Linked DNA regions of Homo sapiens: region 2 is linked to region 1. The links are contacts of gene promoters, found by promoter capture Hi-C in blood cells and fetal thymus (Javierre and others, 2016). All regions are on one chromosome and are shown on one strand. Each heading gives the region's core, a stretch centred on a gene start or on the middle of the fragment in contact. The rest is flanking DNA. Distances are from core to core; before and after follow the strand shown.

Region 1 (4,062 bases), core at 523-3,022:
GGTCCCTTGCTGTTGGAAAACCCACCAACGTAGTGTCCATTAAGTAGACAAGGTTAGGCAGCTGCATCCTCTGGCAAGAAAAACAAGGAAAATAGGCAACAACCTGCAATGGACACTTTTCTCTACAGAACCTTTTCAACCCTGAATTGAATTGTTTCCTATTCATTTTTTAATAAAAAGTTACTTTGCAAGATATAAGGAAATACTGTCCCAAAGATTTTCACTAGTCATTCAATCCATTAATAGGATTTGAAAAGGCATCATTACACAGGGTTGAAAATACTCTGGAATGAGACTGCTTTACAGTCAGAATGCCTGAGTTTTGAGGCACTGTTACTTCTAAACATCTCTAAGTTTCTATTTTCTCATCTAAAGGAGTAATATTACTTTCCTTAAAAGGTTGCAGTGAGGTGTAATTTACAAAAAGTATAAAAACACAAATGAAGAGAATATCGGGACGTCTCCAAAGTTCAGTGAGGATTCTCCTGCCAACTTAAATTCAAATAAATCAGAAAGTTTACACTTTACCTGAGACAGGTTGGAGATGCCCAGCAAAAAGCAGATGGAGTCCAATATGTTGGATTTCCCACTACCATTTAAGCCAGTGATAGCATTGAAGAGGGGGTCAAAACCATTGACTTCGGTCCTCTGAGCATAGGACTTGAATCCCTCTAGAATAATTGACTTAATATGCATTTTCGATACTGTCTTGGGTCAGCAAACCTCTGACAGGAATCAAACAGGCCACAAACCAGTTCTGTACGAAACAGAAATACCACCACCTAAGTGGAATGTAAACCTGGAATCATAATGAACACGAGGCAAAAACAGCAACGATAGGGTGATAGAAATAAAACAGCCACTTGACAAACTATCTTGTCTGATGTAAAGACATCGTTCATCTACTCAAAAATATACCAGAGTTAGCCACTATCTGGAAATTAAACCATTCAACTGGGAAGTCTTAACTATTTCTTCTACCCGTTTTTCCAGGCTTGCCTTCTACTTTTATCATACTCTACCTAAACAAAGACTATGGATTATTACATATCCCATTATCTTTGCCTATAATGTGCTTTTCTCTGATACTGACATAGCTTACTCTCTACTGCACTCACGTCTTTGCTCAAATGTCACCTTACTGGAGTCCTCCCTGACCTCCCTATGTCACCTCTCCACAATCCTTCACTCGGCTTTCTTTTTCCTTCATGGTACTTAAAGCTGATATTAGACGGTCATTACTTGTCTGTAAGTTCCCGCAGTGTCTTCACCTACGTCCGTCATTGCATCCCCGAATTGTGCTTGACTCCGGGAGGAGGGGAAGTCATTTAAGTATTTACTAGAGATGAGATGTATCTCATATTCTCCAACTTCTTGCTTTTACTCAGGCTTTTACCTCGCTTCTCCAGGCCTGTCTACACCTCTTCGCCCTACTCCAAGGTCGAACAGAAGCTAGCCTTTATTTCTAAGGATCACCTAAGGTCCCTCTGCCACTGGTCCCCCTCCCTACAGCCCCCGCGCCCCGCGCCCCGCCTCCCGCCTCCCGCCTCCCGCCAGGAAGTCTGGCCCGGCCCAACCGGCCGTGCTCACGCACACGCCTCACCGCTGCCTCAGGCCAGGGGCTTGACGCACCCCAAAAGCTCCTCCGGGTCACAAAGGCAGGGAACAGAACAACTCTCTAGCCGGGGCCGCTACAAAGCGAACTTCACCATAGCGGCTACAACACCTGCCACACCGCTCTCAACACCCGCGCCGGAACTATTTATTCCTTTGAATTTCGGCGCGAGCAAAGGACCCCACCTCCATTGCTTATTTCCTGTGCTGGTGCCTAGGAGCTGCCTGTCTTTAGGGTTCAATTTTTCCCCTACACTCGAAGGATTAAAGCCGCAGGGCAATAGAATGAGAGTCTCGATAATGGTAGCTCCGGGGACTCCCCGGCAGGGGCCTGGGCACTACAGGAGCAGATAGTGTATGTTCACACCGGCGTCCGGCACTCTATGGTCAGCCCCACACCTCGGCCCCGGGTCCTCGCGCTTCGCCAGCCCCGCCCCGCCTCGGTCCCTCTAGTTCGCGTTAGGCACACTGCAGACTCCGCCTTCTCCAGTCTGCGGTGCTGGCTGTGGCTTACTTTTCTCTCCTCAAAGCGACAGTTAGGAAGTGGAGAGGCATTCTATGAGTGTTCTCGTCGGTTCTGTTTTGGAAGCTTCAGAATCTTCTCGGGTTGGCTCAGATTGCTGCAAAATAAAAGCTGTACTTCTTGGGGCCAGAGAGGCACCGTCCTTCGGGGGACTCTGGCCCGCGTCCTGGCTCCGCCCCGTACTGGCCTCGGACCTCGGGGAGCGTTTTTATCTGAAGTTTCCACGTCGGAAAGGGATCGTAGTCTACCGAGAGCTGTTCCGAGCCCAGAGGAGAAATTGTGTGGTGCTAAATAGCTATTCATCTCCCTTATACCGGAAAGCGTTGTAATGATAAGCCGACCTAACCTGTTGGGGATTTTTTCTGGAAACCTTTTAAGACAGTTCATGTTATTGAGTTCTGAATATTAGGCTATATTGCAAGGGGCTTTTTAAAATCCACGTAGCAACCCTATGAAATCAGAAATTGCCCTCGTTTTACAAATGAGTTAAATGAGACCAAGTAAAAGGTTAAACAGCTTGTCTAGTAAGCTGGGATTTGTTCCCAGGCGGTCTAGCTCCAGATTGCATGCTTTTAAATACTAGGCTTCATGCATAGAATCTAGTATTATTAGCCGATCCTATTATTAGTATGTATTGTTCTTTAGGAAGAAAAAACGTGTCAGGATTGCTCACGTTTCCAAGCACGTTGATACTTAAGAGTTAGGAAGGGCTTAACTCCGAATGGGTATGGTGTTACCCTAAGTGAGGTTCAAAAAGATGGTGTGGGCAACAATGCTATTTTGGAATGGCTTGATCCTTTTGGGCTTCCATAACAAAATATCCTAGACTGGGTAGTTTATGAACCACAGAAGTTTATTCTTCACATTTCTGAAGGCTGGAATGTCACAGAATAAGGTGTGTCTAGGGAGGGGTGCTTTCTCTTTAGTGGATAGCACCTTCTGGCTCTGTCCTCGCATGGTGGAGAGGCAGAGGCCCTCGCTTGGGCCTATTTTATAAGGACCTTAATCCCATTCCTCACTTCCCAAGATGCCACTTGCTAAAACCGTCAGTTCGGGAGTTAGGATTTCAAAATGTGCATTTTGAGGGACACATTTAGACCATAGCGTAGGTCATGTTTTTAAAGTTGCTTTCTTGGCCCTGGAATGGCAATGCAGTCATCTGAATTGGTCTTAACCTACCAGGAATGGGCTTATATTTTGAAAATATTTCTCGATAAGGGAGTAAAATAAGTTGTATGGGTTTTTTGTTTAAGAAAGGATTCCTTTGTTTACTCTGGTATGCTTATCCACTTCTGTGATGTCAACCATGGGTAGTGACCTAACATTAATTTAATTCAACAGATATCTTTGTCTGCCTTGATTCCTGCATCCCCTGGGCTCCACAGCTATTCACTTGTATTGATTCTGTTAACTCTTACACATTAACTTTGAGCTGTGTCTCCTTCCTTTTATCATTTTGTGAGTAAAGAATTTTAATTTGCCAACAAATCCTAATGTGGACTTTGTCACGTTGTGAAATAAAGTGATTTTTTGGTATGGAAATATGTGTTAAGACAGACTGTTAGTCTTTGCACTTTAACAACTAGCTGATACACTTACGTCACATGGATGAAAACATACACAAGTGCACTGTTGTTGGATAAGGACTCCTGGGTGGTTAGAAGAATGTGCAGATCTAACTACTCCCATTAAGACCATTGATTAAAATGAAAAATGCTTATAAAGGTGGAGATCTCTCAGTTTTAGTCTTATTGCGTGCCAGAAGCACTAAGGAATTGCTGCTAAATATAAGACAAATGGACTTGAGGAAATCACTGATGACTAACTTGAAACTCTGCCTCCTGAGATCACACAGGTGAGTGGAAAAAACCAAGGCACAAAGCCAGTGAAGCCCCCTAATTTGGAGATGTGAGGGGTAGAAACAG
Region 2 (4,062 bases), core at 531-3,030, 1.2 Mb before region 1:
GCTAGCAGGAAAAAAAAAAGCTAACGGGTAAGCAAACACTCAAAAAAAAAAAAAAAAGACTGGAGGAATAGGATGATAGGATGGATACCTAATAAAACACAAATGTCCCCCATTCATCTGCAATTCTAGTCATTTTCTCTCTAACAGATCTCAGATTTTCAGAACAAGTATGCAGGTTATTTAAAACTGAGTTATATATAGTCATTTAGCAGCAGCAAAAACACTTCTGGCATTATCACAGATGCTAGCTTTCTGGAGGAATTTTTTCCCCCCAAACTAGCGTTTTTCTTCACCAAGAACCAACCATCCTTTATTTCTAAAAACAAGAGCCCTTTTCTGCCCCCTAAAACAAACAAATCACAGACCACAGTTAATGAAACTACGCTAATGAAACTGTGAGATTACATCCCAGGCGTTGTCAGAGCCTATTTTTCATACACCACCACAAGACAGTTTGATGCAGTATTCCTGATTGCTTTTTATAGTATTTGTAAATACACTCGCTAATCCACTAAATTAGGTAATTTACAAACAGGTCCTCTCAGTTATTAGTGGCCAGTAGTCGAGTTCTATTACATTTGATCCTCGTACAGTTGTCTAAACATTTCCACCCAGGTTAAGGGCTCGGATCCGAGAGAAGGAGGTTGGCGAAATTTGGATGGGGGCAGGGTAGAAGCTGAGAGAAATCTCTGCATCTCAGCCCTCAGCGACAACATTCAGCCAGTGCCCACAGAAAAACTAAATTCGGAACCTCTTCCTCCTGTTACACTGGCAACAAAGAGGGAGTTTCCGTAGCGCTCCCGTCACCCACCAGGTGCCCAATCTCCTTCCCAGCCCAGAGTCGGCGCTCCCGCAGGGGCCTCCGAGTGCGGGGAGGCCGCGGGGCCCGGGTCACGGCACTAAGGGGGGATGGGGTGCAAGCGAGCAAGCGAGGTCTGCGGAGCGGGCCGTGGAAGGGCTCCGGGACCCGCTGAAACCATCTGAACCCAGCCAGGGGGCAGCGGGCAAGAGAAAAGGGACAGAATATCTAATGAAGCAGAAACTGGAATTCGGTGGGAGAGGTGAAGAGCTCTTGCTGGGGGTACACCTGCGAGGAGCACAGAAAACGGGCGGCGGATGGCGGGGAGACTCCACGGAGGTGGAAGAGAGGAGCCAGGCCCGGAAGAACAGGGAAGGGGATGCCACCTGGGGCAGAGGAGGCGCCAGTGCAGCCTCTACCTGCAGGCGGGCGGGACGGGCAGCTCAGGTGTGACTGGGAGGAGGGGGCCGACTGGGGAAGGGGCCGGGAAGAGCTGAGGGCGCACTAGGCGCCGCGCAGAGGCGCCTTTGAGTCGGCAGCCGCGGAGCCAGCGCACGGGCATCGGCGGGACCCGGCGGACGGAAAGGCGGAGTGGGGGTCTTTGGACTGCACGGTGCGCTCAGGGGAGGCTGGGGACAGCGAGAGGTATCGGGCGGCGGGCGCCCGCCGCGCGACGCGGCGCACGGGAGGCATCCGGGCGGGCGGCCGGGAGGCGGGAGCCCCTCACCTGCGCGGCGGAGGAGGCGGAGCTGCAGCAGCCCATGGCGGGGCCGAAGGAGCCCGGAGGCGGCGCCGGGCGCGCAGCTACGCCCCGGAGCCCCTCGGCATGCGAGCCGGCGGGCGCCCGGGGAGGGCGCGGCCTGGCACCGCACGGCTAGGCGGCGGCGGCGGCTGCAGCGGCGGCTGGTACTCAAGAGGCGGCGCGGCTAGAGGCAGGCGCCGGCCACATCCCCCGGCGGCGGCGACGGCGGCTACGCGTCTCCTGCTCTGCTCCTGCTGCAGCAGCTGCTCCCCAGCGGAAAGGGGCGGGCGGCGGCGGCGGCGGCGCCTCCCTCTGTCCCCCCGCCTCCCGCCTCCCGCGCCCAGTCCCTCTCCCGCTCCCTCTCCCGGGCCGCCGCCTCCTCAGCGCCGCGCGCGTCTCCCATCAGACTCCCCGCCCCCAGTGCAGCGCCGTGCTGGTGGCAGGGCGGCGGCAGCCAGAACAAGGCCGGGCCCTTCCGCGCGTGTCAGAGGCTGCGCGGCGCCGGGCTTATTTAGCTGTGGCACCGAGGCAGCTCTCTGCCTCGAGGCTGGAGGGCAACGCGGTCTGAGGCAGCCAAAGACCGGGCCAACTCGCTGCCAAAAAGGGGCCGGATTGCTTCCGGATCTAGGAGGCAAGCGGGACTTCTCCCTCTCCCTACTGGACGCACAACTCAGGATCCTGATGGCTTCTTACCGCCCCGTCGGCTGTTTTTTTTCTCCAGAGGAAAGCGTACACAAGAAACCTTTCCTGGAGAAGGAATAGGTGATAAGAAGACGGGAAGAAACAAGCATCTGTTGCTACTGTCCCCATTTTGCTGATGTGGAAACTGAGGCTTGAAAGGGACCAAGAACCTAATGAAATGTTCCCAAGGTTGAAATGGTAATAAATAGCCAGAAATGAGGAAAAGGCAAAAAGTTATCCAGGCTCGCAAGTCAAAGCCATACTGGATCTAAGCTAAACTTTCTTATACAGGATAGTCTACAAAAAACAATAAGGGGACATTAATTTATTCATATTAAAAATACTTACTGAAGACACACTACGTTCCAGTGACTAGTACTGGGAATAAAGAGGCGAGCAAAAGAGACTTACCAAGTTCCTGTTGCTAAATCAGTAAGACTCAAGGAAGTAGCAACAAGTTAGAGTAGACGTGGTAACTACCTTCAAGAAATTTACAATTCCAAACGAGTCGTTAGGAAATACAGTATGAGGTGAAAACAGTTAAAAAGTGAAAGAAATAAAACTAAAGATAATGATGTTAAAAAAAACCCCACATTATCAGGCACTGTTATAGCCTTCATATGTCATTTCATCTTGTCAAAGAATGTCTCAAAAGACAGCCACAGGAAAGAAAAGAAAAACTTTATTTGCAAAGCTGCAAGGGAGTGAGACTTCCAAAAGGACTGATTCACCAAATATGAGACATCAAGTTTTAAAGATTAGTTAAAGTATAGAGGGAAGAAAAGAACACAGAATTAAATTGACTTTACATGCACTGAAAGGGAATCTAAGCCAAGGAAAGTTGGAATGGTAGCCTGTAAGGGGACAGCTACAGAAAGGGCCAGGGAAGAAGAATTCCTAATTGATGTTTTCCTATGCCATTTCCTGAGTTCGTGACTGTGGACGAGTTATCTCTCCAAATCTCATTGTCCGCTTCTGTGAAATGCTGGTAGCAGGGATGACTGCAAAGGCTTGTGGTCAAGATTAAATAACATAAGAAAGTGCTGCTAGGTCAGCAAGTACTCAACTGATTGAGATCTTGAATTCTTCTGCATTCTTTCTAGTTTCCTTTCAGGTTAATCAGAGGGTCCACCATACCACGGAGCTGGCGAATCCTACATGTGTTTCCCATAACCATTAAACCAATAAATACAAGTGAAGACATAAAACTAATGGTTCTAGTCCCAATTCTGGTTGTAAACTCCAGAATTAGATTGTAAACTCCCTGAGAACAAGGAAAAGTATTTTCTCCTTTGTATCTCCCTCAGCTCTCTCAAATGTTTGTTGAATTATTCAGTGCAGCCAAGAATAAAAAACATTCCCTTGAGATTTTCCCTCAAAGCCAGAAAAGTACATCTTGTTTTTAACTCGGGGAGGAGGCTGAAAGTAAAACTACAGTCCTAAACAAGAAGCCATCTGTCTTCCTTCTTTATAGTCAAGGAAAGGGGAGTTGTTTCTCTTTGCAGAGTCAATATGGGAGCATTTCTCTCAGATTAGAAAAATCTTTTTGGCTAGTGCTGCCGTTCCGTGTAGTAGCTAGTGCTTATTCTGTAATTGGAACTGTAGAAGGAGATAAATGCGTAACAGACTGTGGCAGTGCTTCATAAAATGTATTTTGCTTTTTTAGAGATCTCTTTCCTAGACATAGATAATGGGTGAATATAATTGAAAGCAACTACAGTCCGTTGTGCTTGACTGATCTGCACTCTGGTTTTCCCTTTAAGTGTTAATAGAACTAAGAGTTCTAAGATTCTGCAAGGTGCTTTGTAAATACACCAATTATGTATGTATGCACCATATA

What was found. The method cuts DNA at HindIII sites, captures the fragments that hold promoters and counts their contacts. A CHiCAGO score of 5 or more calls a contact.
Region 2: the fragment with the promoter of SLC44A1 here is called in contact with the fragment with the promoter of SMC2 in region 1 in 4 of 17 cell types (total CD8 T cells, activated CD4 T cells, total B cells and 1 more); the score reaches 9.2 in total CD8 T cells.

Annotation. Positions count from the first base shown.
Region 1 is chr9:104,092,019-104,096,080 of GRCh38, reverse strand. It overlaps SMC2 (structural maintenance of chromosomes 2), which reads right to left and starts at 1,772. Exons shown (of 25, transcript NM_006444.3): 1 at 1,604-1,772; 2 at 529-757. The coding sequence starts at 696. SMC2-DT (SMC2 divergent transcript) reads left to right here and starts at 3,607. Exons shown (of 3, transcript NR_121580.1): 1 at 3,607-3,992. RefSeq lists enhancers at 1,152-1,819, 2,038-2,357, 1,820-2,489. The HindIII fragment of the contact is 5,032 bases long and covers 1-2,205 here.
Region 2 is chr9:105,242,369-105,246,430 of GRCh38, reverse strand. It overlaps SLC44A1 (solute carrier family 44 member 1), which reads right to left and starts at 1,780. Exons shown (of 16, transcript NM_080546.5): 1 at 1,527-1,780. The coding sequence starts at 1,562. It overlaps LOC112268038 (a long non-coding RNA gene), which reads left to right and starts at 838. Exons shown (of 3, transcript XR_002956866.2): 1 at 838-1,412. RefSeq lists silencers at 838-917, 1,258-1,397, 1,408-2,007 and enhancers at 330-1,233, 1,234-2,138. The HindIII fragment of the contact is 7,272 bases long and covers 1-4,062 here.